Linked DNA regions of Homo sapiens: all the other regions are linked to region 2. The links are contacts of gene promoters, found by promoter capture Hi-C in human tissues and cell types (Jung and others, 2019). All regions are on one chromosome and are shown on one strand. The core of a region is centred on a gene start or on the middle of the fragment in contact, and the rest is flanking DNA. Distances in the headings are between cores, read along the strand shown.

Region 1 (5,351 bases), core at 346-2,845, 390 kb after region 2:
GGCGGCTTTAACATGCTGCCAGGGCTGGGAACCATCACCGTATTACTATTGAGAACTATTATCTCACATAATTCTTAAGACAATCTTACAACATAGTTATCTCTTTTTTAAAATGAGAAAATGGATGCTTGGAAAGTATAAGAAGCTTGGTTAGGGTCCCACATCCCGAGAAAACCTGAAATTCCCATCTGGGTCCGCCTCGCTCTATAGCTCAGAATCTTCTATCATCTCGCATTGCCTCTCCTGCAGGTAATCTTTCCTTCAACACCTCCTAGCTCTTTGACCATACTTTTCTTGTGGAATTCTGGATAGGTTGTGTGATGGCAGTTCATATACATGTTCCTTTTTTTCTGCTGATATATTATCTTCTCAGGGGTTAGAAGCCCATCTAAGCCACAGTTATATGCCCACAGTGTCTTTCACATACGAGACATTCTGCACACAGTAGATGCTTGTGGGATGTATGAGTTACACATGAACCAGTACTTCCACGTAGACACGGTCTGTGTTAGAACAAAATTGAACAGGTTTTTATTTACATCAACCTTTCCACTACATTTGTGTTTTACCCTGGAAAAGAATTGCATTCCATTGCAAACAGTCCTTTCTAAAAGTTTAAACTTCAAATGTAGTTTATATTACATGAAATTTCAAAAGTAGTTTATGTTAAAGTCATACACTGTTCTATCTTAAAGCCTGTACAAATTAGGAACACACTAACTTTTTCTATATTGGTACTCAAGCTCATATAGCATTCTCAGTTATAATAATCTTGATCTTGGATGTGCTCTGCATAGGAAGGAGGGAGGAGTGAAGAGGGGGAAGACATTTTAGTGAGAAAAGACACACTGGCATCAGATATAGACAATCATTTTATATCATGTACACAAAAGAAGCTTGCCCTGTACACTAGCCTCCCCTTATTCACGGTTTTATTTTCTGCAGTTTCAGTTATCCGAGACCAACTGCAGCCTACAAATAGTAATTGGAATATTTGAGAAGTAAACAACTCATAAGTGTTAAATTGCAGCTGTGCTGAGTAGCGCGATGAAGTCTTACTCTGTCCCACCTGGGTCATGGATCATCCCTTTGTCCAGCGTATCCACCTTGTCTATGCTGCACTCTTCACCTGTAAATCACTTCGAAGTCTTAGTTATCAGATCGGCTGTCACAGTATTGCAGTGCTTGGGTTCAAGCAACCCTTATTTCACTTAATAATGGCCCCAAAGTGCAAGAGCGCTGTGCCCAAGTTATAAATTAAACTTTATCATAGGTATGCATGCATAGAAACACACACACACACACACACATACACACACACACACACACACACACACGTATATATATATAGGGTTTGGTACTAATGTAGGTTTTAGGCAACCATTGGGGGTCTTGGAATGTGTCCCCTGTGGATGAGAGGGGATTACTATATTCCATATTGAAATCTTGTCAAAGCAAACGATTTGCAACTTGTCTGTGAGAGTAGATCTAGCTTCTGGATGGTCCAAAAACTTAGACTCTTTAGAAGCTTCTTATAAAAAGAAAAGATGCTCACTTGAAGAAGTGAACCTTCAAATTCTTCTGTGAAATGCTTAGGCCAGTTATACACGGTGTTTAACAACTCCCTCCCCTAAACTGAACATCCAAAACTGAAATTTTATATTGCACAAGGTCTATCACACTTATTGCCTAGAAACTGCTTTCCTAAAAATTGTGTTTATCACAACCAGTTGCTAAAAATTTGTTTTGAGAATGTCTGGTGTTTGATTTACCTTACTTTTGATTTTTTTATAATACAAAGATTCATCTGGCTATTTGGATTGTAAACAATTACGGGCATGAGGGCCCTGTGTCCTAATTTTGTGAACTGTAATTTCAATTGATGGAGGCAGTCATATTTGTCACTCTCCTACAAACTCTGGTTGGAGCCCCATTGTCTAGCAGTATTGCTGTCGTCTGTATTTGTATAGTGTGAGGCGGGGAGTGAAGGGTATAGCTTGTAGGAGGACAAAAGCTGATTTAATGGGGACTCGATTAAACACATCTCGTTTATGGGACTTTTTGTGGCTTTAAGTGTAGATATTGGTATTTCAATTCTTTGTATATTAAGAACTTATTTAAAACTGACACATCAGCCAGGCGTGGTGGCTCACGACTGTAATCACTTTGGGAAGCTGAGGTGGGCGGATCGCCTGAGGTCAGGAGTTTGAGAGTAGCCTGGCCAACATGGTGAAACCCTATCTCTACTAAAAAAAAAAAAAAAAAAAAAATTAGCTGGGTATGGTGGCGGGTGCTTGTAGTCCCAGCTACTTGGAAGGCTGAGGCAGGAGAATCGCTTGAACCCAGGAGGCAGAGGTTGCAGTGAGGCGAGATCGCGCCACTGCACTCCAGCCTGGGAGACAGAGCGAGACTCTGTCTCAACAAAACAAAACAAAAACATGACAAATCAACTCACAATAAAACAATTCTCACTTATCTTTTTGTGAAATATTTTTGAGAACACATTCTATACCTATTTATAATAAAGTCATGTAAAAAGGGAACAATCTAGTCAATCATTCATACCGTGTCTATATTTATTCTACAACACATATGCTCTACTAGGCACTGTGCTAGGCCCTGAATGGCCCCCAGATTAGAAGGTTTCTGCCTTCGGGGAATGTGCAATCTGGTGGGATACAGATGCAGTGGAACATCTGGTACAGGCATGACATAAGGAGGGGTTATACAGGCCGAAAGCTACAGTAATCAACCGGATGAGATGGTTGTTACTGAAAGAAGGCTTGGGGAGAGGCATTTGAGTGGTTTCCACAGGCACAGAGGACAGTGGTGTGGTGTGGGGAAAAATGGTATCAGGAGCAAAGACACGTCAGGGAAATCGTAAGTAGTCCAGAGGGCGGTACCACTGCCTACGTGTGGAACAAGGGGAGGAAAGGGAGAGACAACAAAGGGAGAGGAAAGAAATGAAGTTAGCAACTCAAATTGGGATAGGAGATGGTGAAAAGTCATGAATGTTGTGCAAAGACACGCATTTCACTCTCTACAAACAAGTGATGCCGCTGAAGGATTTTTAAGAATGAGAAAGGAGCAATTTGGCATTTTCCAGAGACGGTAAGAATATGCTGTGTGAATTGGACGGGGGAGCCAAATGTCTAGGCGTGGAGCTAGGAAATCTTGAAGAGGGACAGTAGTAGAAAAAATGGAAAGTGGCAGATGTTGAAGACAGCATCAATAAGGCCAGTGATGAACAGGATGGCACAAAACAACTCTTTAGAAATATTGGAACAGGTGTCCATTTTCACATGTGGCCTTCAGAATGCAGGCTTTGGAGGCACACAGACCTAGCGTCAGAGCCTGTCCCACTGCTTGTGATCATCGGCGGGTTAATAAATCTTTTGAAGCCTCATTCTCCTCATTTGCAAAAGGGGATGTCACTACTGCTACTCTCCTAAAGATTATTGTGAGATTTCAGTGAGTTCGTGCACATAAAAGGTTCCCATCAATGCCTGGCAAGCAAGAGAGTACAATAACACACTTACAACCTCACACACTGCCTTTCAAAATGGTGTTAAAATGTTAAAAGCAGTACAACAATTCACCATTTAACAATACTGATAGTTATTTTTCTGTAATACTTTTCTGTAATACTTTTTATTCTTTTCCTTAACAAATTTCAATATTCTTATCATTTCAGTGAAAATATTCTGAATTAGGTGTTCACTAAAGCATAAAAGTTCTTATTGAATAAATAAATGTTCTTATTTATTCAATAAGAATCTACTATATACCTGGCTTTGGGGACACTTGGGATACAAAAATGATTTGGTTTTACCTGCTGTCCTAGAATTAATTAAAGAGAAAAGCCATAATCAAGTGAAATCATATTTGGTCATAAACTGTTATTGAACCAAATGTCAAAAATGAGTGATACAAATTAGTTATGAGTTAGGAATTCCAGATAGAATTGGTTTCCCTAATAATAACTGCCATTATATCAAATATATTTACCAATAGCTATTGTAGTCCAACTCTGGAATGTAAGTACTGCTTTAAAATAAACATTTATAATGTCAACAACTCAAAATTTCAAGCATATGATTAATTATATTGACATACGATTATACTATAATAGCAAAATATTTCTTTTATAAACACCTTAAAAGTTTTCGTGACAAAATTATTTTGGTTAGAATTTAATATAAATATGATTTATTCTGTGTTAGGATTCAAAAGCTTATTCAATTTAAATAAAAACCATACTCCAGAAACTAAAACATTTCTTAGTAGATATAACGGAAACTGTTTTTGTTGGTAAATCTATAATAGGAATTGCTTGGCCCAGGTCACTGAAGCATTTTCTGCTTACTTTACTTAGGAACGTTTTTGGGGGTATGTTGAACAGTTTTCATGTTTCATATAAAAACACGTCAGATGTGTTTATATGTTTTTGAAAAATGTAAAACAAGGCTTGAAACGTTCCATTGTATGCGTCTGTAGGATACACATTTTGACATATTTTTAAAAGGATGTTGGTTCCCAAATCTCATAGGCATATATAAATAAAACAGAATTTAAAAGGTATTACCTTGTTCAAAATCTGTATGAGCAGATCAATCAGATTATAACACATACAATTATAAAATATGGCATGAGAAGAATACAAGAAAATAAAGTATAATACTCTGCAACTAAAAGTATAATATTCTGGAAGTTTACGCCTTTAGGTATTAAATGTTTTATATGTGATAACTGAAATAATACATTAATTTTCTATGAAGAAAAACATTGTGTTAGAAAAAAACCAGCTAGACCAAATAATGCTTTAGAATTAATTCTACAAATTTACTGACAGGAGAGAAACCCTGAGGTTTTATTTTTACCTTGTTTTCTCATTAGACAGTAGAGAACACCAAGTAAAGCTTGACTTTGACATTAAAGCATTATTTTCCGTTTTAGGCTGAGTGGTTTACTTTGCATCAGGTAAACTAAACTGTCTGCCACGTTTTCTTTGTAGCTAGAGTTAGAAGTTGGTAATTCCTAAGCCAAGTTCTCAGCTTTGGAAAACGTGCTCAAAATGCCTGGAAACTGAGGAGTGAGCATTAGGAAGACTTCCCCTGTCTGGGCTGATAGGAGCGGCTCCAGTTTGGCCAACGCAGGTCGTGCCCCGCGAACAGCGCGCTGCTGAACTTTTCATCCGGACGAGAAAAACGCTCAGATGCGCGCCAGCTCCAGGGAATGCCGGGGGGTGCCAGTCCCTCGCCTCTCCCACCCGGGACCCATCATTTGTTACGGAAGGGCGATGGGGTGTGTTTTATTTCTGTTATCACATATAAAACATTTAAAACCTAAAG
Region 2 (5,458 bases), core at 2,158-4,657:
AGAAAGCCACTAAGTACTGGGTTGGGCGGGTGGACACATGTTCTGCCGAGCGCCATTCTCTCCCCTGCCTGTGTAAGTGATACCAGGATCTTGTGACCACAGGCAGCTCATGCTCCCGAGGGCATGTAAGGCCTCTCTTTTCTGAGAAAGTCCGTGGAAGCAGAGGACAGTGTATGAGTTTCCATGGAAAACCTCTTGTCAAGGATTCCAGCTATGACTCCTTCTATAGAACAGGATAACTGGAGAGTAGCCAAGGAGAAATATATCTCCCATTTAGAAAATATCCAAAACTCTGATTGGTAAAATTAAGTGTAACAAAGATGATACTACTTCCTGAATTCATATATTAATTAATATTTAATTTAGTTTAAATGTCTATTTAAAATCTTCTGGTGATGTTTAAACAATTGAACAACTTGATAGTAAAAATAAATCCAGACACATAAGCAGATAAAACTTTATTTTTTAAGTGATTGTAGAATCATATATCAGCCTATTTTTAAAAAATGAAGATCAAATAAATATGTCATAGTGTGGATATTTCATAAATTAAAGCTATTATGAGAACTTAATATATGACAAACTAGACTTAGTAATATAAGACAAATAATGGAGAGAAGAAAATATCTACTTAAGAATTAGTATTGGGATACCCAAGCATGATATGGAGAAAAGTGAAATTAGACCCATACCTCCATACAATATAAAACGTAGTGTTAGACATTTTAAAAATAGCTACTCAAAGTAGAAGAAAAAAACTGATATATGTACTAGAGTAAATAGACTGCTATATCTATAAAAGAGATACATTTACATCAGAACATGAAATAGATCATCATCATACCATAGATCTGTTCATAACACTAATAGAATGATATAATAAATATCAAAAGGAAAACAACAAAATGAAAAACATTCAACACATATTTATTGTCCCAAATATATAAAGAATTGTTGTTAATATAAATACTCTGCTTTCACTCCAGCAGTAGTCAAGGAAGATTAAAAGTTTATACAAAAGGGAAACCTTGTCAAACTGTCAAATTAAATTGAATCATATGGAATATATACAGCTTCATAGTAATTAAGTAAATACAAACTAAAACTCATAAATAACTCACAAATAACCAACTCTCTATTTTTTTAAAGCCAGTGTTGGAGAAGAGTGTGAGAGAAAGCCCATCTATATAACTGGTGGGTTGGTATTTCTGAAGAGCAATTTGTCAATATGTAGCAAAAGCTACAAAACTTTAAAAATCTTAAATCTATCCATTCCATTTGGGAAATATATGAGAAGAAAAAACTTAGAGGAGAAAATGAAGTTTGTGTAAGTTTCAATGTAGCAGTATTAGTTTTCCTTCCTTCCTTCCTTCCTTCCTTCCTTCCTTCCTTTCTTTCTTTCTTTCTTTCTTTTTTTTTTTTTGAGTCAGAGTCTTTCTCTGTTGCCCAGGCTGAAGTGCAGTGGAGTGATCTCAGATCACCATGACCTCTGCCTCTCGGGGGTCTCGTGCCTGAGCCTCCTGAGCTGCTGGGATTCCAGGCATGAGCCATCACGCCAGGCTAATTTTTGTATTTTTAGTAGAGATGGGGTTTTGCCATGTTGGCCAGGCTGGTCTCGAACTCCTGACCTAGGTAATCTGCCAGCCTCAGCCTCCCAAAGGTATGAGCCACCACACCCGGCCTATTTTTCATCATAAAAATAAGACACAATTCTAATGCACAATTAAAAGGAAAATGGAGGTATAAAAGCAAGTGCTCTATATTACAGGATGGGATACAGTACACTATTATAATTAAAAAGGTTTACTGTGTGGATTATGCTGATCCATGGAAATCAGTAAGTGAAGTTTTGATAAAGTGGAGCAAGTGACGAATACACTGAACTGTAAGGTCTTTGGAGATGGGCCACGTCTACTTATATTCAATCCACAGGGCTACACCTAGTTCTTGGTACACAGTACATGCTCAGCAAGAGTCTGTTGAATGAACACATACATGGTTTATCTGTTTGTCTCTTCCGAGTTCTTGACTTCTGTCTGCTCTGACCTCTGGCAGCTTTCCACTAGTTTCTAGCTTTCATTCTGCTTACCTGGATTTCGGAACTCTAGCCTGCCCCACTCTTAGATAAACGCATGCCCTCTGTGGCCCTGGAACCTTAGTGACTTCTGCTATACCAAAGTCTCCACGCCCAGGGTGACACGCAGCTGCAGCTCCGTAAACCTCTAACATGATGTCAGCAAATATTAAAAAAAAAAAGTTTATAAAACAATGAATAAACTTTGTTAAAGGTACAAATGAAAATTAGCAAACATGGGAAGATAATTGAGTGAAGAGTTTAAAGTTAAAAACGAATTGCAGTCATTCTAGGGGAAGGAACAGTTGTATTTGAAAACCTGTATGGTTACATGAACTGCCTAAAAAACAAGCTAAGGAAAATTAAAGCTCAGATTTATATATTTTAAGAAATTAATTGCAATTAATTTCCTGGGATTAAATAGCATTTCCTCAACCCCAGCTGTCATTAAAAAGAGGCAAATACAGCCAAGGACTGGATCTCCGGAAGGCTGACAGCACTGACCCTCAAGAAGGCACCGGCTGACAGACAGAACATTCTGCCCTAATATGTGCTGAAATTCCGCTGAGAGCAGAGTGGTACATTGAACCCTTTAGGGGCTTACAAAAGAAGTGTCCTGTGTTTTAGAGTCACAGAGTTTTGCAGAAACAAGTATGAATTCACCTAGTGGCCCCCTGCACCAGGTCTTTCCTGTGGGCACTGAGTGCCAGACACATCAATATGTAATAGCAGAATGAATGACTGAACGAACGATTGAATGAAAAGAAATGAGAGGCAGCAGGTTGTCAGATTCTATGAGGCAATCACAGCATCAGGTGACCTTAGTATCTATTTGAGAGGACTGCCATTTATTCTCGGGAGCGCACGGCTCTAAAGAGGCCCATATCCAGGCAGTGAGCTCTGGTGGGGGGCGCCTTTAGATGCAAGAAGGAGGAAACAGCTCGAAATCCCTGGGCCTGAGCGCGGCCCGTGCAGGCCGGAGGGTCAAGAACTCTCCACCGGCGGCAGCGGCCCGGTGTCTGCCCCGGCTTCGCCCCGGCCTAAGGCTGCCTGTGCTATAAATACGCGGCCCACATGCCGCGGTGACACGGTGTTCCCTGGGCTCGGCGGGACAGATAACATGAATGTGCCCTTTAAACGTCCCAAGTTGCAGGGACAGCCCCCGGCCCAGCCTCGCTCCCGGAAGCGCCTTCGCCCCCGATGCCCTCTGCAGCTGGGAGGAGGGGGCGCCCCGCACCTGCCCAGCCAATGCGCGGCGCGAGCGCCGGCCGCGACCCGCCTCCTCTCGCGAGAGCCCGGCGGGGATATAAGGGGGAGCTGCGGGCCAGGCGGCGGCCCCCTAGCGTCGCGCAGGGTCGGGGACTGCGCGGCGGTGCCAGGCCGGGCGTGGGCGAGAGCACGAACGGGCTGCCTGCGGGCTGAGAGCGTCGAGCTGTCACCATGGGTGATCACGCTTGGAGCTTCCTAAAGGACTTCCTGGCCGGGGGCGTCGCCGCTGCCGTCTCCAAGACCGCGGTCGCCCCCATCGAGAGGGTCAAACTGCTGCTGCAGGTGAGGACCGCGCGGTGCAAGAGGCGGGCGCGGGCGCGGCGGGCCGGGCGGGGCGCGCGATGCGGCGCGAGCTGCAGGGCGCGGGGCGCCGCGGAAAATCTGCGCCAGGCCACAGGCCCGGGCGCCCGCCCGCCCGCCCGCCCGCCCGCGGGGGAAGAAGGTGCCCTCTGCGTAGAGACAGGTCCAGCGTCAGTCGCAGATTCCTGGTGTCGGGTGGCGCCCGGCGTTCGGGTGTCTATATATGGAAACCCACCCGGAGCCGGTTTACGTGTGCCAGATCCTGCGCCCGTGACAGCACGGGCGTGCACTCAGGCCCGGAGGCACCTAGTGATTGCCAGTATTTTTGGCACCGTCTTATGCGCACGCACCTTTACAATAAAAACATCAAAATAATCATCACCCAAGAATTCCCTTATCGTATCTCATGCACAATGCTGTATGTAGGCTGACGCCTTCATCTTTATGTAACCTCTGTGAGAGAGTTATTCTTCTCCATTTTACAGATGAAGCTGAGGTTTTGAAATATTAAGAAACAATTTTCGGAATAAACTCAGATCATCCTGTCTCCAAATCTTTTCCTCCCCTACCTGGTCGCTGAATGGTTTATCATCCTCTCGTGTTTTCCTCCACCTGCCCAAAAGGTCAGGGCCCCTCAATGAGGAAGAGCCCAATTTGGGAGTCAGAATTACTAACAACAAAACCCCCACAAATTGCTCACAACGGCAGCAAACCCTTAATAATTGATTACTTGGATTATCTGCTTGAAAACTTTGGAGGCCTAATGTTTAGTGGATTTATTCTCCTTCCTCTATTAGAGCATCTAGTAGAGATCCTCATCTCCAGGGTGATCAGAGTGACACTGAGAAATTGTCATTTTTTGGCCATCATGTCTATTAAATCCAAAGCCCTTTGAAGCAGGGAGTGTTACTCATTTCTGTCCCCCAGTAAGCCCCTCATACAGTTCTCAAACCTAGGGAAAGTGAAATAAATAAATGGCTATAGCTTTATATAATTCAATCACCTTTTCAGTTTATTTGGGGCAATACCTTTTCCCTCAAATACCCTAATAATTGAAGCAACATTGGATTATTTTGGCTTGTTATCCAGTAACTAACATGGATAACAGTATCCATTTACACGTCCTCAGTATCCATTTGATTTCCTCATCCTTTTTTTCTTCAAAAAAAAAATCTAGGAAGTGCAAACCTTTTTTTTTCTCCTGTCCTCTTCCCTTCTCTCTACCCTGCCTGTCCTCTGTCACCCACCCTCCCCTCCACCAGGTCCAGCATGCCAGCAAACAGATCAGTGCTGAGAAGCAGTACAAAGGGATCATTGATTGTGTGGTGAGAATCCCTAAGGAGCAGGGCTTCCTCTCCTTCTGGAGGGGTAACCTGGCCAACGTGATCCGTTACTTCCCCACCCAAGCTCTCAACTTCGCCTTCAAGGACAAGTACAAGCAGCTCTTCTTAGGGGGTGTGGATCGGCATAAGCAGTTCTGGCGCTACTTTGCTGGTAACCTGGCGTCCGGTGGGGCCGCTGGGGCCACCTCCCTTTGCTTTGTCTACCCGCTGGACTTTGCTAGGACCAGGTTGGCTGCTGATGTGGGCAAGGGCGCCGCCCAGCGTGAGTTCCATGGTCTGGGCGACTGTATCATCAAGATCTTCAAGTCTGATGGCCTGAGGGGGCTCTACCAGGGTTTCAACGTCTCTGTCCAAGGCATCATTATCTATAGAGCTGCCTACTTCGGAGTCTATGATACTGCCAAGGGTGAGAGAGGGGCATCGGGGAGAAGGAGGGTGGTGTGGAAAGAGGATCCTATGGGATCTATAACTC
Region 3 (6,055 bases), core at 1,819-4,318, 460 kb after region 2:
TTATAATGGCGAGTTTTAGAACTTTTCAAAGCTTACCTTTAACAAGAATCACCTCCATGTTAATGTGGATAACTAGGAGACAGTTTTGAGGAAAGCTGACTAATTACAGTACTTGAAATAGTTTATTTTAAAGGCATTTGACTAGTAGGGAATGAGTAGCAAGAACAGTTATCTAAGACGGCTCATCTGCGTCTTTCTGTTTTGGGCGTTAAGCACCATATAACCTTGGGGATGCCTCAGCTTCCCTATCTCTGAAATCAATGAGTTGGACAAGATGAGGGTTAATCGGGTCCCCTCAGGGATTCCATGAAGGATACACATTTCCACAGATGTATTTCCTCTGCTGTGTAAAGGTGTCCGTCATCAGTTTTACACAGAGAGCTGGGACACTGACATTGATTGGTTAATTCTCATGTGTCTCGGTCACGTAAAAAAAAATAATGGTTACAATTCAACTCCATTTTGCAGAATGGTAAACCAAAACCCAAAGATACTGGATAATTTCTTAATACGACAAATAGGTAAAAAACAAACAGAAAAAGAAACAAAATGGTAATTTCGATGTGCACGCTATTGCATGAAAGATTACTATGATGGACTACTTGGCCTACCTTGGCTAAAATCAGCATCTTAATTTTGACGCTGAGGTAGGTGCAAATGTCCTATAAGGTGATGTAAATAGATTATCTGGGGAGACTGTCTTTCGCCCTTTCCCCTTGGTGATGTAACTCAAATGGCAAGTCGCTTAAGCAGAGATTTGTAATGCAGCTGCACTCTGTCGCCACCTAGTGGTGAGCAATGGCAGCAACAAGCTGAGAGTTGTTTCTGCTTTATCTGCCCCTTTTTATCCAAGTTCCCAAGGCTGGAAAAATTTTAAAAGCCTATTTTAAAGGCCGCAGAGTGATGTGGAATAGACAGTCATCTGTTTTCCTAACCATGTTCTTCCCTCCCCACGTTTTAAATTTTTGAGAAAGCATCCCTTGTAAAGCCACCAGCATTTTTGGTCCGTGTCCATTTCTATTTTGACTATCTGTGCAGGCATTTCCATTTCCCCTAACTTCTTAGCAGTTTTAAGATAAATATAGAACAATATACACTTGTGACATTCAGAGAGGCTTACATGAGCTGAACCTAGAAAGATGGCTTTCAACTGACACATTACAATCACTGTGCTGGGCATTTTGAACAAGAATTATATTATGCTTATATTTCCTTGATGAATCTTAAGAGTAGAACAAGAGAAAAATCCAGTGAAGCATGCTGCGGTTTTCATCGTATCCTAAATATGTATTTTTTTCTGTAGCCCTGACTATGTAAGTATTTTTCTGTAGCTATTTTTTAATGTTGTCAAAAACGGATACAAAAGAGACAAGTTTTAAACACATGCTAATTTCCAAAGCCAGAACCAATCACAAGTTGCTGTTCATAAGGAAGCTGGTTTGAAACATCATGGAGTCTGTAACATCAGTAAAATATATACTTTCCGATCTTAGTGAGCTACAGTCTGTTGAAAAGCCGTCTAATTTATCAAAGCTTCTGCAGTTATCTCTGGAGGATTAGCTATATTTAGTATCAAATAATTCTTAAAGAAGGATTGACTGTTACTTTAAACACTAATGCAAAAAAATCTCTGAAAGCAATATAAGCAGTGCTAAAGTGTTTTTATCTTTTTTTATAAAATATTAGTTGTCATATTTGCCCACCAGAATTCGATGAAATTCTCCTAATAATACCACGTTTATGTTTCTAGAGGCTTATTTTTCCTTCTTAAATTATGAAGGTAAAACACAACTTTGCATAAATCTAAAAAAATAGAATATTTATGGTTCACACAAACACACGTGTAATCTGACATACAAATACATAATGTAAAAATCAGGCAAAAAATAAAAAAAAAACCTTAAGGGGAACACAAGCATACCATCTCGTGGACCCACAGGAGGGTTATAGATGGGTCCTTTTCACTGCAAAAGAAGCTTATGTTTTGCTTTGGCTCTGGAAGGCCATTCGGGGGAGTCTAAGAGTCTCTACAAATTGGCATTTCTGTCTCTATGGCAACACAAAGCTCTGCCTCAGCAACAAAATGAGGTCTTCCTATGCAATGCAAAAAGCACAAAGTGGCATGAATGCAGAATAATATCGACTTTTCTTTAGAAATAAAAAATGAAGACTTCTGTGAAATCAAGCCCTTGAGAACTTCTTGAAATGCAGAAGCACGGCCATGCGATAGGCCAGTCAAGGTTGAATCCGGGTCCATTAAAACAGAAATGAGGAAAGGAATCCTGACTTATGTCCAGATGAAAATTTCCAAACTCCTTGGCTGCATTCCTTAGAATTGATAGTAAGTACCATTTAGAGTCCATGTATTTTAAAGTACTGTAGATACTATGGAACGAAGTAGCTAAGGGAAAGTAATTTGACCTTTAAGTTCAATCAGAGCTGGCAAGAAATAGGAAGTGGATAGAATCCAGACAGCAGTATGGGGACAAAAGGCAGACTGAGAGGATGTAGTGCACATCACCAGAGAAACAGAAGATGTTAGACAAGAATCATGGATTTAAAAAAAATCCAAATTGAATGACACAGAAGCAAACATGACCGGAAGTGTGTGAGTTCGGCACTGTAGATGCTTGGCAACAGTTTTTTCTTTGCAGGAGAAACGGTGACTAGAAAGCAGTGATTTAGTGTAGAACCATGAGACAGATGTAGACCACAAAACACACGACACTCTTATTTGTAGAGTAGAGAATCTGACCATGTCTTTGTGGAGTTTGGAAACCTCACACACACCTAAAAGGGAAGCACATCACCAGGTGGTCGCTTCATCTTCAGGGTGTCTCCAGCCTCACTTTAAGGCCAGTTCACAGCAAAGACAACTAAGGAAGAGCCAGCCCTGGGGGCGGGGGAGGTGGCCAGGATGCCTGCCACAAAGTGGGGGCATGCTGACCCTACCCTGTGGGAACCGCTGAGCCCTCTGACAGGTGAGCCGCAGAATCTCCTAGACATCACTGGGCTACGAGGAGGCTTACCCAGGACACATATCTCGCTTTTTACGTCAGCCTGGAAAATGTACAAGAAGTTAGTTAGCTCTCATCTTCGTCACACAGACTTCAGGAGGAGCTTTCCTGGCTGGCTTTTTCCATGCACACACAGCATGCCAAACTCCTGCACAACAGCAGGGCAGGGAGGGTCCACAGCTTCTCCAGCTGCTTATACAGTTTCCACACCACAGGCACCAGCTGCCATCTTAACATGGCACCCACAGGCACAGCAGAAAAAGGTTCACAGAGGAAAGCTGGCATAGGGAAGAGGCCAAGAACATATAAGAAATGTTATATCTTTTTTTGTCTTTTATTTTTTTGAGACGGAGTCTGGCTCTGTCGCCCAGGCTGGAGTGCAATGGCACAGTCTCGGCTCACTGCAACCTCCATCTCCCGGGTTCGAGCGATTCTCTTGTCTCAGCCTCCCGAGTAGCTGGGATCACAGGCACCCGCCACCAGGCCCAGCTAATTTTTGTATTTTTAGTAGAGACAGGATTTCACCATGTTGGTCAGGCTGGTCTTGAACTCCTGACCTCAAGTGATCTGCCTGCCTCGGGCTCCCAAAGTGCTGGGATTACAGGTGTCAGCCACTGCGCCCGGCCAAGAAATGTTATGTCTTTCATAGAATGCTTAGCAATTGGGTTCAAGATGCTCTCAAACCTGCCCTGCTTTTTCATCTTATTGAAGGGATGCAAGGTGAGATAGAGGAGAATTTGGCTTAATGCCTGTCAAATTTCATGGACTGTATCAGACATTTGTTGGAGGCAAAATTTTCTAACACATAAGAAGAAAATAAGGCCTTTTTGGGGGGAAACATGGTGAAATTTGATGAACTACTGAAGTGCCAACCTGTGGGCTGGACTGTTTTGGTGTTTTTTTTTTATTTTCAGAGTAAGATCTTTCATATGACAGTGAGTAAGCTGACCTTCTTTTGTGTAGGTTTTATTTTCCTTCCAATAGCGGACAGGATCTGGCAGTGTACTGCCTGGTATTTGATCTGGCTTAAGAGAACTTCCGGAGGAATAAAACACGCTTAAATAAAAGCATGTGGTTTTCTCAACTCTCATTTAGAAAAGTTTTCCTAATTCTCAGTAATGATTGACCTCAAATCCCCAGCCTCTCGGGATGAAATGTGTTTGGCACCGTTGCTTAAGTGTCGTGGCAGACGATGCTTGATGCTCTCCACATCCATTCTCTTCTTGGTCCTCAGTAATGGGGCCAGGCTGTTGGGTAGGCACATGGCCATTCTGGATAAAGACCACATTTCCTGACTTGTAGCTGGATGTACTCATGTCATAAGCTGAGACCGAGGGGATATATGCAATTCTGGGACTTGGCCTTCAAGGGAGAAGGTGTAATCTCCCATCTTTTCTCCTTCCTGCTGGTTCGTGTGAGAAGGGAACTACTCGAGCTGCCACCTGGGACCCATAGCGGAAGCTTCTCTCTGAGGATGGCGATGAGCCCACATCAGATGGAAACTCCTGGGTTCTCTGATGACTGCGGGGCCACCATACCAGTCCCGGACACCCTTCATTTATGTGTAAGAGCAATATATTTCTACGTTGTTTAAGCTATAATTATTTTGAGTTTTCTGGGACTGTGCTTATCCCAGTCTTGACTAATACAGGGGTTCAATGCATATCAGAGCTCTTAGAGAAAAAAAATAACCCCATTTAGCTTTTAGAATGATGTGGATCATAACAGCTGGAAAGAGCACGTGAACATATTAGGAAAAATCAGGGCCTGATTTCATGTTGAAAACCGTGCGCCGGGGATCCCCTTCTGATGGGACTGCTTTAGGGTGACGAGACTTCCTGGTGGGACCACAACCACTGAGTTACTTGGAAGAAACCTAAAAAAGAGCCTCTCACTCTCCTCACAGAGCTTCCGCTGCAACTTGAGACCACATGCGGCAAGTCTCTTGCAAAATAGTCTCTCGGATGGAAATGGAGGCTCAGCTTATAGAGGAGCTGAGATTTATACTATTTTTTTTGAGATGGAGTCTCGCTCTGTTGCCAGGCTGGAGTGCAGTGGCACGGTCTCGGCTCACTGCAACCTCTGCCTCCCGGGTTCAAGCAATTCTCTGCCTCACCCTTCCGAGTAGCTGGGATTACAGGCACCTGTCACCACGTCCGGCTAATTTTTGTATTTTTGGTAGAGACGGGGTTTCACCATCTTGGCCAGGCTGGTCTTGAACTCCTGACCTTGTGATCCACCCACCTTGGCCTCTCAAAGTGCTGGGATTACAGGCATGAGCCACCGTGCCCAGCCAATTTATACTATTTTTTGTTATGAAAAAATCATTATTTTAAAAGCAGATGCTCAGAAGACTGGGGGAAATATTGGATTCAGATTTATACATTAAACATAATTTATGTATCTTTCAGTCATCTGTAATCTATAAAGTGGTAGGAACTTTTACGTTTATGGAAGATTCTGGATTGCATTTACTTTTATGGAGATTGTCATTGTCTTAGAAAACACTTTAAAGAATGAAATTGCACTGACTTAACATGAGTTAACTAAACAATGGTTGATGGGGTTGATAAAAATGTTATTACAATGATTTCATGCGTGCTATACTATGTCATTAAAACATTACTAAGAGTTTATTTTCTCTTTGCTTTCAGTGCTGGGTTATTTCTTTTCTTTACAATGAGCATCAGCATTCTTGAAATGGAAGAAATAAAAAGGCTTCGGACTCAGATTGGCAGAGTTTGTAACTGGGTCAGATGCAGAATTAAACTATAATGGCCTAAAATTACGAGTTGATTCAATTTGTACTTAAATTTACAAGCACAAATAACTTCAGTGAATATATTCTTTCAATGACTACAAAATAGATTTATAAGGTTTAAAAAAACTCAGTGGGAGATTCAAAAATTGAGATTTCCTCCTAAATAGGAGATAAAACAGAGAAAATCACTTTGATTTGCTGGAGTTAGTCAGAAGTATCTCATGTGGTCATTAAAATATTCTTTTAAAACATAGTTATTGTGAATACCTCCATTCTC
Region 4 (5,368 bases), core at 887-3,386, 350 kb before region 2:
GCTTGCTTTTCCTTTGTAATAGGGCTTAATGCACGTGCTATGGGAACACTGGGACAAACTCGCCAAGCTGAGACATCCAATGTTACCAGTGTCAAGTAAAAAACAATAGGCACTTTCTTTTTTTTTTTTTTTTTTTGAGACGGAGTCTCGCTGTGTCACCCAGGCTGGAGTACAATGGTGCAATCCTGGCTCACTGCAACCTCCACCTCTCCGGTTCAAGCGATTCTCCTGCCTCAGCCTCCTGAGTAGCGGGGGTTACAGACATGCACCACCATGCCCAGCTAACTTTTGTATTTTTAGTAGAGACGGAGTTTCACCATGTTGGTCAGGCTGGTCTCGAACTCCTGACCTCGTGACCTGCCCGCCTTGGCCTCCCAAAGTGCTGGGATTACAGGTGTGAGCCACCATGCCCGGCCAATAGGCACTTCTTGAGTGCATATTACATGCAACCTATCATGAGGGATAGAGCCAGCAATACCACATGGTTCCTGACCGTAAAAAGATTACAATGTAGCTAGCAGTGGCCCAAATAAAAGCTAAGCATCAGAGGATTTAAATAACAAAGCACAGATTCCAAGACCATTTTTAGACAAGTACCTGGTATAAGCAAAAATGAAGTGGCTAAAATAGAAAGAGGGGTGGAGAAACCAGAGGTACTCCCTCCTTCACTGAGGATGCATTAGTGGGGCGCTCACTGTGTGCCAGGCACTGTCAGTGCTGTGAAAAGAGATGACTGATAACCACCCTGTTCTCAAGGAGCTCGGGCTAGGGGGGCAGAATGCCAGGTGAACACCTCTGTGCCATCAGGAGTTATGCAGAAGGAATATAACATGCTGGGAGGGAAAAGGGAAGAAATGCTTCACTCAGAGGTAGGGGATGAAAATGATAGACTAGGAAGGTTTTAGAGAAAAGGTGAAATGCAGTGAGTTTTGTAAGATTAAAGAATACATCAAGCACCCAGGCTGGGGGTAGAAAGAGGCTTTATGATCAAGAAAAAAAAGTGCATGGCCGGGCATGGTGACTCGCGCCTGTAATTCCAGCACTTTGGGAGGCCGAGGTGGGTGGATCACCTGAGATTAGGAGTTTGAGACCAGCCTGACCAACATGGAGAAACCCCATCTCTATTAAAAAATACAAAATTAGCTGGGCGTGGTGGTGCATGCCTGTAATCCCAGCTACTCAGGAGGCTGAGGCAGGAGAATCACTTGAACCCAGGAGGTGTAGGCTGCGGTGAGCCAAGATCATGCCATTGCACTCCAGCCTGGGCAACAAGAGCAAAACTCCGTCCAAAGAAAAAAAAAAGTGCACAAGTCTGGGCATGGTGGCTCACACCTGTAGTCCCAGTGCTTTGGGAGGCTGAGGCAGGAGACTCACTTGAGGTCAGAAGTTTGAGTCCAGCCTGGGCAACATAGCAAGACCCCATTTCTAAAAAGCAAAATAGAACTGCACAAAGCCTCAGGGCTGGGAGAGAGCAGAGGTAGTCGTGGCTCTGCAGGAAGTTCAGTATGACCTGAGGGCCCTATACAGGAGGCCTGGGAGGGACAGAGGCTGGAAAGGAGGTATGCTGGATATCACAGGGTTTCTTACACTACAGTTAATAATTAAGGGTAATCCCATGAGCCAACATTTCCCAAGTATCTTTAACAGAACACTGCCATCCTGGGATGTCAGTATTTCTTTCTCAAAATATGGGTCTCATGGTCAAGTAAGCATGAAAAATGCCGGATTGGGCCCAGTTCAACAGACCTCTTTATTGCAGGAAACGTCAGAGCCTATTGTGCACTGGTGTAACATGTGACTCACCATAAAATACAGGATGTGACACTCACATATTTGACCATGGAGCCCCCAGGGCCACAGGGAACATCTAGAGGGTCCAGTGAGCTTTGGGACCGACTCTGGGAAAGTTACAGTGGACACAGAGGGGCCTGAGCGATCCTAAGGAGGCGAAAGATAGGAGCAAATGTGCATTTCTGAAAGGCCACTCGTTCTTCATGAAACACGGCGAGCGGGAGCCACGCAAATGCAGGAAAATGCTTACTTGACACCTGTATTCCCCTCTGGAAACCTTCGTATAATGTTGTGACATCATCATAGAAATACACCAAGGGCTCGTCGCTGTCAAGTAGTGCGGATCTTCGTGCACCACCACTACCCTATCAAAAAAGAAAGGGGGGCAGGTTAGAAGGCAGTGAAACATCTATGCACTGTGGAATGGCTAAATCAAGCTAATTAACATATCCATTCCTTTACATTCTTGTCACTTATCTGTAGTGAGAACACTTAAAATCTATTCTCTTAGTAATTTCAGGTATATGGTACATTGTTATTAACTACAGTCACCAACTAATAGTGAACATGGTCACCATTTTTATTAAAAATAGATGTCCTGAACTCGTTCCTATTATACACCATAAATACACATAATTTGTATTTGTCCATTAAAAAATAAAATGCTTAAAAATTAAATATAAAGTCTAATATGCCCCTGTGGTATCCGCACCCCTCTAGGCGGCCACCTGCGGAACAGCTGCCCAGTGAGTGAGTGCTGAAAGACTGCAGTGCAAGATGTGCTGATGTAAACCAATCATTCGCCTGGAGGTAAACACAGGCTTCGGGGAACCACGGCTAAGTCAGAAAGATGCCTGAAGAGAGAAAACAGGTTTACAGACCTACAAGTGCTGGTCCTGCCGGATAAGGCCAAAGAGAGCAAGAGAAGAGCCACAAACTGCCACCACTACACACATTGACAGTTCTCAAGCCACTGCCATCCACAGCACAGAGGACTGATCCTGTTCAGCTCTGGTGGAAATGAAACCCCATTTGGTTATACTTCTAAAATGTTACCTATATTCTTTTTGAGACTATTTCCACTATTTTATCTCCTCACCAAGCGCAATATCATCTGTTAGAAACTTCACTTTCTTGCATAGCATCTCTAACAGTTAAAATCATCAGCTACAAAACATATGCATGTGCAGACACAGGTCTTTATTAGTTTTAGGTGCAACATTTATAGGTGTGCAGATTTGACATCGCTGTGCACCTTTCTCTAAGTCGTCTTCATCTGTTAGCTTCCTGAGTATATTTGCTATGTGCAAGAACTCCTAATGATGGATAAGGCGGCAGGGCCTAGCCTCCCACAGTAGCAGCAGTAGTCTTTACAGGTAGCAGGTCTCCAATGTGAGCTGCTGAGTCCTCTGGGGCCAAAGGACACTGTAAGGCATCCAGACATCCACAGAAAGCCAAAAAGCAGTCTTTAGAGACTGATAAATAAAAGCTCAGTGACTATGACGTTAGAGCCTACCTTTTTTTTTTTTTTTAATTTCAGAGAGGGGCCTTCACTTTTACAACAGTCTGGAAACCCTTGGAGAAATTAGACTGTGATATGATAACCTCTGGTACCAAGAGGAGAGAGCTGTCCAAAAGTGGAAGAGATCGTTTCTGGCTTAAGGTGTGATGAAACAAAACAGGAGACACCAAAAAGAAGTGTGGAAAAGCTAGGTCTCAGAGTAGGGCGGCAGGCTGAGGAGGGCCGCGCTGAGGAGGAAGTGGATGGGTGCCAGGGGATGAACTCACAGGGAGACCCTTTAGAAGGGGATGACTGCCTGATCTGTTTCCATGGACTCTTCTATTTTTATTAGGATTATCCATTTCTCTTCCTACAAGCTCTTTTGCTTTTTGTCCACCCTTAAGTTATAATGTATATACTGTTTAAAAACATTTAAGTGATACAGAAGTATATCAAGGAAAAATGATGACTATTAGTAGTTTGGTAAATTCCTCCCAGTCTTTTTTTTATGCTTATACATTTATAGACATTCTGTCAATATCTACTGTGTGCTACATGTGTGTATTTCACTCTTGATCCCAAACTGCTAATAGTTTTCTGGAGTAAATATGACCTAACCATATCTTTTAATCATCACAATGTCTTCTCTCTCGGCAGAAACTTTCTAACACCTATGGCTGTGATTCCAAACATGCTTACTAACTACAGCACACTACTTTATGAAGCAAAAACGTTATTCTCTGTGTGCATAAGAATGGGAGAATATCTTTGCTTAGTGTCACGCATTATTGTTACTTAATCGCTGAGTCTGTTTTCTTTTCTGTAAAATGGAGACATCATGAGTCCACTTCCAGGGTTATTTTTTGTTAAAGAGGAACTTTCCTGTAAAATATGATTGTGTAGAATATTACTTGTGCACCCGATAACATGCTCTAACTACAGTACAAGTCCTCCATCACCTCAGTCTTGACTCCAACAAATAGCCTGAAATTCAGAAGCAATTTTGTGGCTTTGTAGTGAATATCAGAAGCCTTTTCAACCCATGAAGCCACCAAACACACCGAAGGCACCAAGGCTAAGGTAGGAAGAGAAAGGGGGAAAGGACAAAATGAGAGAAAACAGGAAGAATGAGTGGGTGTGAAAAGAGATAAGAAAAGTACCAAGTATGATGGTGAAGTGTGGTTGTCTCAGCATGGCCTAGACATGCAGGTGGCCTGGCCGCCCACAGGGAGGTCCTCACGATGCTCTGCTTACAAAGGTGCCTTCTATACCTCTTGACACAACAGAAATGCATTCATGGTCTTTTTCAGTGCTCTCTCTTCAAAAGCAACACCACTTTCTGCACTCTGCAGAGGAGTTCCCCTAGCTGTGAATGGGCAGATGGGGATAAGGTGAACAAGACACAAGCTTGTTCTGAAGGAGCCCACGTCTTGTCTCTAAGTGACCACAGGGACTCCAGGGAACCCTGGCTGAGCAGAAGAGTGCAGGGAGAGTCAGGATGAACAGACAGAAGCAAGCCTGAAATCTCAGGTGCACAGGCTCATTCTAGAGCCAAGCTTCTCAAAGTGTGCTCTGCGGAACACCTGGCACTGGTTAGGAAAGCAAATCACACCAGACCTGCTGAATCCGAAACTCTGGGGATGCGATCCAGCAATCTGTGCTTTAAGAAGCCCTCCAGGGGATGCTAAAGTTTGAGAAGCACCTTCCTAGGGACAGCAGGTTTCCAGCAGGGAAGTTTTCAGCAGGGAAGTGGTGAGGATGGGCTAATGGGTTAGAAAGAAATCTACAAGAAGCGTAAGCAGTGTGTGGAACAGGAGGGAGGGAAGAGACTGGGGAGAAACCAACTCCTACAGACCTGGATAGGGCAGTGGGAGTTGGGAGCCGGGAAGGACCAAGGCACTGGGCGTGCTGCAGCACTCAGGAACAGGATTTAACAGGTAATGGGGTGTAAGCAGAAAGAAGGAGGGCTGAGAAGAAAAACTGTCCCCTTTAATCAAATAGAAGACTGGGTACTGGGGGTAGGCTTCAGAAAAGAGATGAAGTTTAGCTTTGGACATACAGAGACCATATCCCTTC
Region 5 (5,694 bases), core at 2,572-5,071, 410 kb before region 2:
TGGACCTATAGCTTCACATAAATCTCAAAGACTCAAACCAATGCACTTCAGGGACAGTGCATCTGAAACAGCCTTTTTATTGCTTTGTAATTATCACCTACCATATACAAGGAAACATCTCATTTGTGATAATTATAGAGAATTTGTAAATGAAAGAGACCTCCCAAAAATCACCTAACATTCTATGCTTGTAAAATCTTTCCCTCCTTTCTTATTTGACTCAAAGCTAAACTATCTTCCCAGGCATGATTTCTAGGATAATCAGGTGTGAATTCTGTCAGTTATCACAGCTATTATAATTATCGTGTCAATTATTAATAAAGTTTTTATGCCTCAGTTCTCTTGAGAAAAAGCATAACAAGTTGGCTCAAAGGATCTTGAAATGCTTTTGTTTTATTAGCTTCTATCTTAAAGAGTTTCTCAGAAATCCCATTAACCATGAATAAACAATTGCTTGAAATACACCAGTACCTTCTTTTTGCTTCTTTTCCTGGAGGAGTTGAAGAGAGAGACAGTCCACAATGTTTGGAGAATTCTTCTTCATCAGCATATATAGCTGTGCTATGTAAAGGAGGATCTTTCAAAAGACAAAAAAGAAGCACAACTTTAAAAGTCTGGCTATTTGGGCAGTACTGTAGTTTATTCCCTTACAATGGAGTACAAAACAATCTTTGTTCAACTAACAAAATCAAAATCAATTACACAGGCCACTTCCCAAATGTTTTTGATCTCACACCTCAACAATAAAAATTGTAAACCCTATCACCAATAAATACATGAATATTTATGAATAATAAACCTTTATTACTGCACTTACATGGAATTATTTTTGGTTTCTGAAACAGGGCCTCACTCTGCCGCCCAGCCTGGAGTGCAGTAGTGCGATCTCAGCTCACTGCAGCCTGAAGCACCTGGGCTCAAGCGATCTTCCTGCCTCAGCCTCCCAAATAGCTGGGACTACAGGCACATGCCACCATGCCCAGCTAATTTTTTAATTATCTGTAGAGACAGGGTCTCACTATGTTGCCCAGGTTGGGGAAATTTTAATGAAATAAAAATATAAATCGGAAGTCCAACATTTTCTTTCCTCATCCCTGTCAGGCGTCATACACTCTGCATGAGAGACCACTGCATTAAACTATAAACTCAACAGGCCTAGAGAGGTCACCTCACAAAGTACCCTGCATATAGTGGGCCCTCAGTATTTTTGAATGAAAAGCCCTTTGGGGAGATTCCAGGCCTCCCTTACTTCCTCTCTGCTTTACTCTGGGATGCCAGAGCCTTTAGATAACATAAAAAGATACCTTGAATGAGGAAGAAGATAAAAGAGAAGGAGAGCAAATGAACTTGGTGGAAAGGCACAGAAAGGAGATGCTAAGAGGAGAAAGATGCTCCTAGCGGGTGCTCAGGAAAGAGGAGTAACAGGAGAGACCCAGGACTTAACGCAGGGGTAGAGAGCTTGGAGAAGAAGAGGTGGCCAGTGGTGACAGAGCTGAACTGCTGTAAGGGGGCCTGGTAAGAGCCAAGCAACCATTTCTTCATGCTCAAAGTTTAGCATGACAGTGCAAACTTCAACATTTTTTCAACTAAACAGCTGCTTAAATAATGAACATATCAACTGCACAATTTTTAAGTTAGTAGTATACTTTGTATTGCCCTCCACGAGGCAAAGGGATTTATTTACTCTATTGCTGTGAATAACAAGGGGGGAAAAAAGAAATAGAACAATCCCAAACGTCCACAGATAACCACTCACATAAACTGGATTCTTACAACTTCATAATAAAAAGACAAATAATCCAATTTAAAAACGGGCAAAGGGTGAACAGAAACTTCTTCAAAGAATATACAAATGGCCAATAATCATACATAAGAAGGTCAAAGGGAAAAAAAAAGCAAATGGTCAGCCATAAGTACACGGAAAAGGTGCTGAACACCATTAGTAATTAGGGAAATACAAATCAAAACCACAGTGAGATAGTACTTCACACCCAAACAAACACCCAGAAAATAGCAAGTGTAGGCAAGGATGTGGAGAAACTGAAACCCTTGGGCCCTGCTGGTGGGAACACAGGCACTGTGGAAATGGTGATTCCTGAAAATATAAAATATATATGATCCAGCAATTCCATTTCTGGGTAAATGTCCAAAAGAGGAGAAAGCAGGGACTCAAACAGATATTGATACACTCATGTTAGTATTAATAGCAGAATTATTCACAGTCAAAAAGCAGAAGTAACCCAAGGGTCCATTAACAGATGAGTAGATAAAAATAAAATGTGGTACATACAGACTGTTCTTCAGCTTAAAAAGGAAATTCTGGCTGGGCGCAGTGGCTCACGTCTGTAATCCCAGCACTTTGGGAGGCCGAGGCAGGTGGACCACCTGAGGTCAAGGGTTCAACACCAGCCTGGCCAATATGGCAAAGCCCCATCGCTACTGAAAAATACAAAAATTAGCCAGGCGTGGTGGTGGTGGTCCTGGGGGGTGGGGGGGGGGGGCGCCTGGAATCCCAGCCACTCGGGAAGCTGAGGCAGGGAGAATTGCTTGAACCCAGGAGGTGGAGGTTGCAGTGAGCCGAGATCGCGCCACTGCACTTCAGCCTAGGTGACAGAGGAAGACTTCGTCTCCAAAAAAAAAAAAAAAAAATTTCTGACTCAGGCTACAACACAGATAAACCTTGAAGACATTATGCTAAATGAAATAAGCCAGTTACCAAAGAACCAACTATTCTATGTTTCCTTTTACATCAGATTCCTAGAAAACAGAATGATGGTTGCCAGGAGTTGAGGGGAGGGAAGAATGGGAAGTTGTTTAATAGGTGGAGCATTTCAGTTAGGAAAGATGAAAAAGTTCTGGAGATGGATGGTGATGATGGTTGCACAACAACGTGAATGTATTTATCTGCTACAGAGTTAATACACTTAAAAAAGGTTAATATGGTAAACTATATTTTACCACCCATACCCCATACACACACTCACACCCACAATGAGGTGCTGGGATGGCTAGAATAAAAAACTCAGTAAGTTTTGGTGAAGGTGTGCAGAAACGGGAACTCTCATATACTGCCATGGAATTGTAAAGTGGTGCAGCCGCTTTGTAAAACAGTTCCTCAAAAAGTTAAAAATAGAATTACCATAGGACTCAGCAATTCTGCTCCCACTATATGCCCAAGAGAAGTGAAAAAAGTCCACACAAAAACTCTTACACAAATGTTCACAGCAGTATTATTCACAGTGGCCAAAAAATAGAAACCACCCAAATGTAACTGATAAATGGGTAACAAGCTGCGGTATATCCAAACAATGGAGTATCACTGAGCTATAAAAACTTACAGGAATGAGGTAGATACACGTTACAACATGGACAAACCCTGAAAACTAAGTAAAAGAAGCCAGTCACAAAGGACCAGAGTCTAGGATTCCACTGATATGTCCAGAAATGGCAAATCTGTAGAGACAGGAAGGAGATTCATGGCTGCCAGGGGCTTGAAGGAAGGGGGAAGAGGGAGTGACCACTCATGGGTACAGGGTTCTCTACAGGATAACAATTTTCTGGAATTAGATAATGCAGACGGTTGTACAACCTTGTGAATAAATTAAAAACCAATGACATGTACACCTTAAAAGGGTGAATTTTATGGTATGTGAATTCATTTCCATTTTTAAAATTATGGGGTTTTAGGTTCAGATCTTTTAGATTTAGATTTTAGACAAATAGGACATTTTTATCAAGTCATAATAAAAGACATTATTCTGGTGAATACATTTCACCTTATAAAATGTATAATATTTTCTTTAAACAAAAAATTAAACCAAAAGCCTTCAAAATTCTCTTAAAACTTATTCCAGCAAAAATGCCTGACTACTGCAGTTCTAGATGTGGGGACACATGGCATTTTCTCTGTCATTTCTGGCTTCTGGAGTGCCCAGTGACACAAGCAGCCCACCCTGACAACTCACACACTCCTGGCCAGCCTGGTACTGGCCTTTTACCTCACACTCCAAGGAACACAGGTGAAGCTCTCCCACTGGCTCTCCCGAAGCATCCCCTGCCTCCATGAGTTTAGGACAAAGGAAAATTACCCATACTCTTCTCCTCCCTAAATTAATGGCTCTATCAAATGGTAGAGTGAAGTGAGAAATGTATGCTATGTTCCCCTTATTACAGAGTACTATAGTAAGCGTCCTCATGTGACCAGATTGTTAATGAATACTACTAGACGAGTGCCGCTTTGATAATGTTCTTAGTTTCAATGTACCCGTAAGTGAGGAAAATTAATTCAAATTATCAAGTACTCCCCAGAGAACATTATATTTACATGCAGGCAACTAATTTTTATATTTGAAGATACTTCTATTTTTTATTATATCTGGCCTAAATGTTGTTGCTTTAGAGTTATGTTAGGATAAAGATTTAAAGTACTAACCAAAGGTCTCATAAGTTTCTTCATCTTTCTCATTTTCACCCAGCCTGCCAATGCTTGAGACATCAGAATTATCAGGAAAGTCGAACACGTCAATAGGCTTGCACTTTTGACCAGCTTTCTAAAAGTGAATAAAGTTGAGTCATTGAGTTGGCTCTCACAAAGAACAATAGGTTGATTTATACAGCAAGAATATTCTTGTAATCACTGCTGCCTAAGGAAGCAATCCTTATGCATGGGGTGATGGATTCACTACCTACCCTGATTGGGTCATTATACAACATAGACATGTATGGCAAGATCAAATCAGACCCCACAAATGTGTACAATTACAATGTTTCAGTTAAAATAAAAAGAAAGAAGCAAGCTAACACTTTTTGGGGACATAGAATTTTTTGATAACCTAAGGCATGGATTGGCAAACTTTTTCTATAAAGGACAAGAAAGTAAATTCTTTTAGGCTTTGCAGGCCGTAAGGTTTCTGTTTTGACTACTAACTCAGCCACTGTCACATGAATGCAGACAGTAACCACACAGAAAAGAATGAGCATGGCTGTGTTCCAATACAATTTGACTTTTGAACACTGCAATTTGAATTTCATATCATGTTCACATATTATGACATAGTCTTTTTATTTTATTTCAACCATTAAAAAAGGTAAAAACCATTCTTAGCTTGCAGGGATATACAAAAACAGGTGGCAGGCTAGATTTGGCCCATGGGCCAGTTTGCCTAAACCTCTGACCTAGGGAAAGTGATGGGTCCTGTCTCCGGAAATATGCCCATATACCCAAAAGTTCATAAACAGTTTTAAGGGTACACATGTGTAAAAACTCCTGACTAAAGGACACCAGGGTTTAGAGTTCAATATACTGATACACCCATGAAGTCTGCTACCCCAAATCTAATGAAACATGAAAACATACATAAAATGAGAAAAACTTTCATGGTAGTTCCAGAAAATGTGGAAGGGTACTATTAACAGATACAAAAATAAGAAAATTCTGGAAGGTATAAAGGAGGTCAAATAAAATTGGCAAACCATATAAAAACTTGACCATTCAGATGCCCCCAGTGAAAGAATCATTCCTGGAGTGCTTGGGGGTGGAATGTGGAGAGAGCTGGCAGGTCTTCCAGCCCCTCCCAAGGCATAGGGGGCCTCCACCAGGGACTGCCTTGCAGAGGGAAGGACAGGAAAGCTGAATCCATTCCAGGCACTCTGGGCTTCCAGCTAAGGCTGGAGCTTAGAGAAATCCCTCCGAGG

The links. Contacts are between HindIII fragments. The study calls those that stand out against the background at their distance.
Region 1: a fragment that was not itself captured here is called in contact with the fragment with the promoter of SLC25A4 in region 2 in 2 of the 25 tissues and cell types used here (heart right ventricle and lymphoblastoid cells).
Region 3: a contact is called between a fragment that was not itself captured here and the fragment with the promoter of SLC25A4 in region 2, in 1 of the 25 tissues and cell types used here (lymphoblastoid cells).
Region 4: a contact is called between a fragment that was not itself captured here and the fragment with the promoter of SLC25A4 in region 2, in 2 of the 25 tissues and cell types used here (liver and spleen).
Region 5: a contact is called between a fragment that was not itself captured here and the fragment with the promoter of SLC25A4 in region 2, in 1 of the 25 tissues and cell types used here (dorsolateral prefrontal cortex).

Annotation. Positions count from the first base shown.
Region 1 is chr4:185,529,679-185,535,029 of GRCh38, forward strand. The region is part of intron 1 of PDLIM3 (PDZ and LIM domain 3); the gene reads right to left. Among named protein-coding and RNA genes, the nearest start is that of PDLIM3, 3.2 kb to the right of the region's middle. The HindIII fragment of the contact is 5,961 bases long and covers 1-4,576 here.
Region 2 is chr4:185,139,859-185,145,316 of GRCh38, forward strand. SLC25A4 (solute carrier family 25 member 4) reads left to right here and starts at 3,408. Exons shown (of 4, transcript NM_001151.4): 1 at 3,408-3,625; 2 at 4,906-5,392. The coding sequence starts at 3,515. RefSeq lists a silencer at 3,180-3,479. The HindIII fragment of the contact is 7,904 bases long and covers 1-5,458 here.
Region 3 is chr4:185,596,996-185,603,050 of GRCh38, forward strand. The region is part of intron 24 of SORBS2 (sorbin and SH3 domain containing 2); the gene reads right to left. Among named protein-coding and RNA genes, the nearest start is that of SORBS2-AS1, 12 kb to the left of the region's middle. The HindIII fragment of the contact is 4,572 bases long and covers 783-5,354 here.
Region 4 is chr4:184,786,576-184,791,943 of GRCh38, forward strand. It overlaps ACSL1 (acyl-CoA synthetase long chain family member 1), which reads right to left. Exons shown (of 21, transcript NM_001995.5): 3 at 2,042-2,156. Among named protein-coding and RNA genes, the nearest start is that of ACSL1, 37 kb to the right of the region's middle. The HindIII fragment of the contact is 5,273 bases long and covers 1-4,773 here.
Region 5 is chr4:184,724,486-184,730,179 of GRCh38, forward strand. CENPU (centromere protein U) reads right to left here. Exons shown (of 13, transcript NM_024629.4): 3 at 4,433-4,550; 4 at 472-577. Among named protein-coding and RNA genes, the nearest start is that of CENPU, 6.8 kb to the right of the region's middle. The HindIII fragment of the contact is 5,564 bases long and covers 1,040-5,694 here.